2 separate regions of the Homo sapiens genome follow, and region 2 is linked to region 1. Evidence: promoter capture Hi-C in 16 types of primary human blood cells and fetal thymus (Javierre and others, 2016). All regions are on one chromosome and are shown on one strand. The core of a region is centred on a gene start or on the middle of the fragment in contact, and the rest is flanking DNA. Distances in the headings are between cores, read along the strand shown. Region 1 holds the start of TMEM244 (transmembrane protein 244). Region 2 overlaps ARHGAP18 (Rho GTPase activating protein 18).

The links. The method cuts DNA at HindIII sites, captures the fragments that hold promoters and counts their contacts. A CHiCAGO score of 5 or more calls a contact.
Region 2: a contact is called between a fragment that was not itself captured here and the fragment with the promoter of TMEM244 in region 1, in 1 of 17 cell types (erythroblasts). The highest score is 5.0, in erythroblasts.

What each region holds. Positions count from the first base shown.
Region 1 is chr6:129,859,729-129,863,324 of GRCh38, forward strand. TMEM244 (transmembrane protein 244) reads right to left here and starts at 1,587. Exons shown (of 5, transcript NM_001010876.2): 1 at 1,428-1,587. The coding sequence starts at 1,460. The region is part of intron 2 of LOC105377999 (a long non-coding RNA gene); the gene reads left to right. The HindIII fragment of the contact is 8,219 bases long and covers 721-3,596 here.
Region 2 is chr6:129,598,129-129,602,081 of GRCh38, forward strand. ARHGAP18 (Rho GTPase activating protein 18) reads right to left here. Exons shown (of 15, transcript NM_033515.3): 11 at 2,514-2,720; 12 at 1,088-1,228. Among named protein-coding and RNA genes, the nearest start is that of ARHGAP18, 110 kb to the right of the region's middle. RefSeq lists an enhancer at 736-1,030. The HindIII fragment of the contact is 1,621 bases long and covers 1,248-2,868 here.

The DNA.
Region 1 (3,596 bases), core at 337-2,836:
TTCTGTCATTTAAAGTGTACAGATAGGGGGGATTTAATTAGCCCAATGCCTGGCACATTGCATGCACTCAATAAATGTTTGTTGAGTATTCGAGTTATCTCTAGATGAAGGTCACTTTTGCTATTACTATTAATTTATAAGCATATCAGTAATTCTTGTGCTGATAATATTGACAGTGAACAAGCACTTAAAAGAAAAGTTAACTCATAACTTATAGGGATGTATCATGAGAATTCAGATAGTCAACAACCTATCTATTTTGAACATATTCACTATTCTTCTAATGTTCTAAGGCTCTAATTCTACACTTGAAGCTCAGATGATTCTAAGATAGTGAGGAACTGCAGCAACTATCTGGATATTTTCTCTGCAATGCGTGTGTGTGTGTGTGTGTGTGTGTGTGTGTGTGTGTGTGTGTGTCTGTCTGTCTGGTCTGTGTAAGCCCCGACTAAATATAGAGCCCCCATTCTTTGTGTAAGCTACTTAAGAGAAAGGATTTTATCTTCTAATTTTTATCTCTTCAGCAGAAGTTATTATTGCTAGTTCAATCCCAAATCTATACATAAATTACGAAGTTTAATAACCCCTTAAAAATAAGCTTTTTAAAAATATTTTTCCTGAAATAATGTTTTACTGACCTTGAAAATTTTTCTTAGCTGTTGTCATGCTCAACATTTCTCACTGATGACATATGTGGTGATGATGGTAGTGTAAAGAAAAAGCTTGAGGAAATACACACGGTGCTGATATTTTACTAAAATGAATGTAGCACTCACTCATAATTGTAATTTAATTTTTAAGTAAAAATCTGATTTTCCACTATCATTCCCTTAAGTCTGGCTCATTATAGGCCTAAAGCCTGTATGAATTTACACAGCTGCTTTGAGGCTTTGCATATTTCCTTGTTTTCGATTGTTTGATTTTTTTTTAAAGGGGTATTTTTGCACTGAAGTAAAACACAACTATTAACACTAGCCTCGGGGGAAAAAGAAACTAACAAACCTACAGCTTGAAATGTTTCAACACTTTGCATTTAAAATTTTGCGCACCCTTTAGAAGTTACAAAAATAAAAGCCACTCCCTGCAAAAAAAAAAAAGAAAAAAAGATTGAGAACAAACTGTCATGATTTCAGAAAACGATAGCAGACGTGCAGGTGCTAATACCAGAGAGCTTACCTCCGAATAAAATGGTGCCTTCTAAACAGCGACTATTTACATGTTTTAGAATCCTTTCTTGGGCATGGGTGCCTTTATATTGCCCTATTACCACAAGATGCAAGCCGTGCAGCAGAATGTTTTCTGTATGGTACCCAGCCAAAAGTGAAACAAGTTGCCCACTGACAGAGAGGCCATTTATAGAACATATTCATTTACACCAGTGCTAGGCAGCAACTGAAAGGCAATGCAAAGAAGTAATTTCTCTTTACCTTGCTTGGAGCAACTCTGACCTGGAGAGCCATGTACACATCCTACGTCAAGGAGGTGATGAAAGCCCCACTCCTTATAGCGATGACATCTGGAAGAAGACACAATTGTCACCGTGAGCTTTTCAATTACTCCTGGAGACTAAGTGTGAGACGCAGTAGTGCAGGATGATTGGATTACGCAAAACGAGACAGATGCCATCTGTGAGCCACGCGTAAGCTGCTAAGTGCCAAAATGAACATCCTTATTAAACGATGGAGTTCTCATACCATTTGTAGTTTGGTCAGATTTGAAAGATGAGTTGATTGTTTTTAGATAGTGCGGCAAATAGGCAGGGACTTGGAATCCTCTCTGGCTGTATGAGTAATTACTGTCTCATACTTAAATTAGAAACATGGGTTTTCAGTTAGGTCTTGAGATTGTTTCCAAAGGATGCTGCTGCATTCATGTTGAAGCGTGGCCTGTCCTCTCTGTTTCACTCACAAGGGCCACAGAGTTCTGAGAAAGAAATCATCAGTTCCTTTCACATCATGGCAAAGAAATGTAAAACTTATGACTTTTTGTTAGGAAACAAAAGGGTTCCCATACTCTAAAATAATGGCCACAATATTGTGGGTAGAATGTTTTCAAGAACTGCCAGGAGGCAGTATTGGAGCTCTGTCTCTCTGCGTCCTGAGGCTCCAGAACCAATCCTTCATTTACAATTCATTCTCCCATCTTTTTACTGGCACCAACTCTATTATTATTTTTATTTTAATTTTTAATTGCTGTGATTACATAGTAATATAGTAATATACCCCATAGAGTTTATGGGGTACATGATATATTTTGATATAGGCATCTAATATGTAATGATCACATCAAGGTAAGTGGGATTTCCATCACCTCAAGCATTTATTCTTTGTGTTACAAGCAATCCAATTATACCCTTTTAGTTATTTTTAAATGTACAATTAAATTATTATTGACTATAGTCACTCTGTTGTGCTATCAAATACTAGATCTTATACATTCTCTCTCTTTTTTGTATGCATTAACCATCCCCACACTCCCCCTTTTCTCCCACTACCCTTCCCAGCTTCTGGTAACCATTCTTTTACTTTCCATCTCAATGAGTTCAATTGTTTCCATTTTTAGTTCCCACAAATAAGTAGGAACATATGAAGTTTGTCTTTCTGTGCCTGGTTTATTTCACTTAACATAAGGACCTCCAGTTCCATCCATATTGTTGCAAATGACAGGATTTCATTCTTTCCTTTGGCTGAATTCTATTCTGTACCTGTACCACATTTCTTTATCCACTTGTCTGTTGATGGACATTTAGGTTGTTTCTTAATCTTGGATATTGTGAAACATGCTGCAATATACATGGGCATGCAGATACCTCTCCGATAGACTGATTTCCATTCTTTGGGGTATATGCTCAGCAGTGGGATTGCTGGATCATATGGCAGTCCTATTTTTCTCTTTTGAGGAACCTCCAAACTGTTCTCCATAGTGGCTGTACTAATTTACATTCCCACCAGCAGTGTATGAGGGTGTCCTTTTCTTCACATCCTCACCAGCATTTGTTATTGCCTGTTTTGGGATAAAAGCCATTTTAACTGGGGTGAAGTCATATCTCTTTGTAGTTTTGATTTGCCTTTCTCTGATGATCGATGATGTTGAGCACTTCTCACATACCAGTTTGCCATTTGTATGTCTTGTTCTGAGAAATGTCTATTCAGATATTTTGATCATTTTTAAATCATATTATTAGATTTTTTCCTCTACAGTTGTTTGAGCTCCTTATATATTCTGGTTGTTAGCCCCTTGTCAGATGGGTAGTGTTTGAGTATTTTTTTTCCCATTCTGCGGGTTGGTGTCTTCACTTTGTTGATTGATTGCTTTGCTGTGGCACCAACTTTAGATGGGAACTTAGCTGTGCCCTGTAATCCTTTTTCCATTACAGCATCTTGTTAACCGCTATAAAGAGCACATTCTGCAATATCTACCTGCATACCAAAAGCAAAGGTGAAAAGAGTGCCTTCAGCAAGTCCAGGCCTTGATAGTTTTCATCTGAATATGTTATTGAATTTGACATTCATAATGCATATTAATAACACTGTCAATGCTCTTTTATTAATATACCTTAGATAAATCTTTTAATGTGTGGTTGCCCTGTTCTCTGC
Region 2 (3,953 bases), core at 808-3,307, 260 kb before region 1:
GGTAACAGAACATTCTAAAGTTAACCAAATGCCAAAAAAAAAGGCTTTCTAAAAGCCTTTAGGATAATATCAAGGCCTTTCTAAAAAAATAAGCATATTTACAACTTCTCTTTATGTTTTTAAAGATATTTAAAACTTGATTTAAAATGTTTTACAATGCCAAGAAAGTATCATTTTTTAAGAGTGAGAGCTATAAATAAATCTAAGAGAAAAACTTCGTTTTTATGATTACTGGATCCATAAGCAGGCCAAAACCGAAAATTCAGACAAAGGCAGATAACTGCATTTTCACATTATTCCACAAGATGTCAGCATGTAACTGAACAACTTCAATGGTGGTGGTAGTAGGGAGGAGGTGGATTCACTTAAATAGAACAATAGAAACCCTTTCATTTCATGAACTTACGCTACAGCTTTGGTAACTTACTTCATAAATGTATATCCATGTATATTTTATTATTGTAAACCCAGTTCTTAATATACTCTTACAGTAGTTTATAAATACAGATATTTAGGTATTTCTTTTTTGAAACATCTTAATTTTTTTCTTTCCAATTTAGCTCTCAAAATTCTTCTGATCAAATTGAGAACCTTCAAATACTTATTAAAGTCCAGGAATAATCCTAGGCACAACACAAACATTAACCTATTTGTCCATCTGGATTAGTTATTTTTCCCCATTCTACAGATGAGAAAAATTTAGAAAAAAATGTCAGTGGTTCACATGATGTTATTTACTCACTATAGATTATATATTCAGTAGGCGACTAGAGTCTCCGCACGAGAGGTAGAGGTAGGGGTAGGGGTGTAGGGGTGTGTGTGTGTGTGTGTGTTCAGTCTTGTCTTGATATCTTCCTTTGTTCCCCATTAACAACTCACATGCTGAGTCACCAACACCTGACCAACTGTCAATACTGATCATTAGCAGCAGTAGTAGGAAGACAGTTACTGATGTCTTTCACTTACAAGTAGCACCACAGCCTAATAAGTGGCAGAAAGTCATACTATGAAAACATTAAATAAAAAATTTTGGTATTAAAAAAATACTTAAGATCTGAATAAATACATATCTCCACTATTTTCTTACATCATTTGTACTCTTATCTTGCTTTTCATATTTTTCTCGGTCATAAGCCATTTTCTTCAGCAATTTCTTCATGGCTCTTTTATCCTTTTTATGATTTTCCGTGTTTTGCTTCCTCACTTGGTTTACAATAAACTTGGGAATCTATAGAGAAAAGGAATTAAGCTTAGAGAGGAAAAAGAAATGCCACCATTTTAAACTACAAAAAAAAATTATATTTTTTTAAATTTCAAAAACAGTAAAGAGTTTCTCTTTTTGATAAGACTGCCATTTTACATGCACTATTCATTAAATCTGTGAAAAGAAAATACTTCATATTATTCACTTACCAGGTGTACAGGGCATCCACGTGGTATAATTTGCCACCCACTGTGGAAGGTTCCAAAAGAGGCTTTGTGAAGTTCAAGGACATAGTGGCCGTTTTCTATGCCAGACTGGAGACCCCCTGAGGTGACGAGCAGTAGAAGCCACCTCCGTAGGTCTTTCCTTTTGCAGCCTCCTACCTACAGCCCTGCTAGCTAACCTCAAGTCCCCTTCTAATAACCAGCTAGCCGCTGCTGTCATGAGAGAAAGAACTCCCCAAGAAACAAGAGCTGATAGGTAGCTAGCAAAAATCCAGAACAAATTTATCCTAAGAAATCACATTAGCAAAAACAAAATATTTTAAGGTATCAAAATGTAACCATGAAATAATTTTGACATTTCAAACATTGAGATTTAATAAATGGACATTAATTTTTTATTAAAAAAACACATTTGAAATCATCTACATCAGTTGTCTTTTTATGGATTATAAAAATAAAGACTTCAGGATCTAAATATCATCACTCTGTCTTTTTAACAAATTAATGTTTGGAAGCTCCTCAAATAAGAGATTGAAATATTCAATATTATAATTTTGCTTGGAATTCCTTTAGGTCATTTTTTCCTAAATGCTTATAAGATGCCTCCTGAAAAATTATAAATTTCATTGGAAAATGAGCACCTAATCAACGAAGCCTCTCATCCACTTCCATCCTCTGATAAGCTGTCAAAACAAGCTCAAAATAAGTGTAAAACAGAGGAAACCATTTTTGAAGATGTTCTCAGTTAATAAGGGTACAAAATGCATGCATCCCTTTCAATAAAGGGTCTATGAAAAAGAACTGAATAATCTGAAACCAAGATAGCATGGGCTTTTAAAAATACAGCAGGCCTAAACACTGAGAAATGGGAAAATAGGCAGAAGTAAATAAAAAGTACTTCTTACAAGGCATGTTTTGACATAATTTTAAAACAGAAATTCACAGGGCCCTCCTTACCTATATGAATAAAATGTTTTTAATATTTTCTGCACTCACAAATTTTAAATGTAAATTAATAAAGCTAATAACAAACATGCAATTTGTTTTTTAAACTACTAAGACCAAAGCATATGATATATACTTACTGTCCACAGAAGTTTTTGGTACTTAATCAATAAGTGCATGGTATTTGCTGTCCCAGCTGCCATTACAAATTCTCGCTGTTCACTGGACTTCAATCCCAATGCATGACACATAAAGAGATTCGGGGCCATGACCATTGCTACATTCATGACTGTCATTTTATTTTTTTCTTTATTATCTATTACTCTTTGGAGAAATTCAAGAAGGGCCTGAAACAGAAATGACTCTTTGAGATTTGTGTCATATATGAAGATAAAAGATTAAAGCACTGTAGCATATGCAATTTTTATTTCATTGAAAAAACAAGTTGTGTATAAGCACAGTCAACTAATCACATCCAGCAGGCCCTGTTACCAAAGCTTCTCCATTTGGTTGATGCTCCCTGAGATGGAAATTTGCTTCTACTAAGGACCATGGTGCTGGGGAATGAAGCAGAGATGGCACATAGCTGAACTAGGGAGCAGAGAGAGGAGTGGGGAAGTGTCAGACCTCTGGCCTATGGGAGTCATGGAGAGCTGAAAAGTAATGTAAAACATCATACAAACATTTGCTTATTTCAGGAAATGCTGTACTTTCCTATGTAGAGATTTTTAAAAATTCCCTCAAAAAGGGTCATTCAACTTCAGTCTCATTTCTTTAAGGCAATCAATATCTGGCTGATGTGGAACTTATAAAGAATGAGCCAGGCACTGGGTATGGTGGTGCATACCTGTAGTCCCAGGCACTGGGCATGGTGGTGTACACCTGTAGTCCCAGATCGGTGGGAGGATCATCTGAGCTTAGGAGTCTGAGTCCAGCCTAGGCAACAGAGAGAAACCCTCTCTCAAAAAAGGAAAAGAGAAGAGAAGAGAAGAGAGAAAAGAGAAAAGAGAAAAGAGAGAAGAGAGAAAAGAGAGAAGAAAAGAGAAAAGAAAAGAGAAAAGAAAAGAGAGGTGAGGGAATATTGTGATAGAGAAAGCGGGGAAATGAGGAAAGACCAAAGAGAATCTTTCTTTTTTTTTTTTTTGAGACCAGGTCTCACTCTGTTGCCCAGGCTGGTGTGCAGTGAGAGATCATAGCTCACTACAGCCTCAAACTCCTCGGCTCAAGTGATCCTCCTGCCTCAGTCTCCAGAGTAGCTGGGACCACAGGTGCATGCCACCATGCCTGGCTAATTTTTTTGATTTTTCATAGAGGCAAATTCTCGCAATGTTGCCCAGGCTGGTCTTGAACTCTTGAGTTCAAGAAACACTTCCACCTCATCCTTCCAAAGTGCTAGGATTACACAGGTGTAAGCCACCATACCCAGCTGAGAATTTTTTTTAAAATGAATGAAAAGAAACTTTTCATCAGAACAGGTTAGGTTATGCTCAGCTTGATGCCACGTACACCCACCCCTATTGCAGACACTCATTGTCCTCTGAAACTACCTTCTCCAAAAGGCAAATGCAGCTGAGGTCACC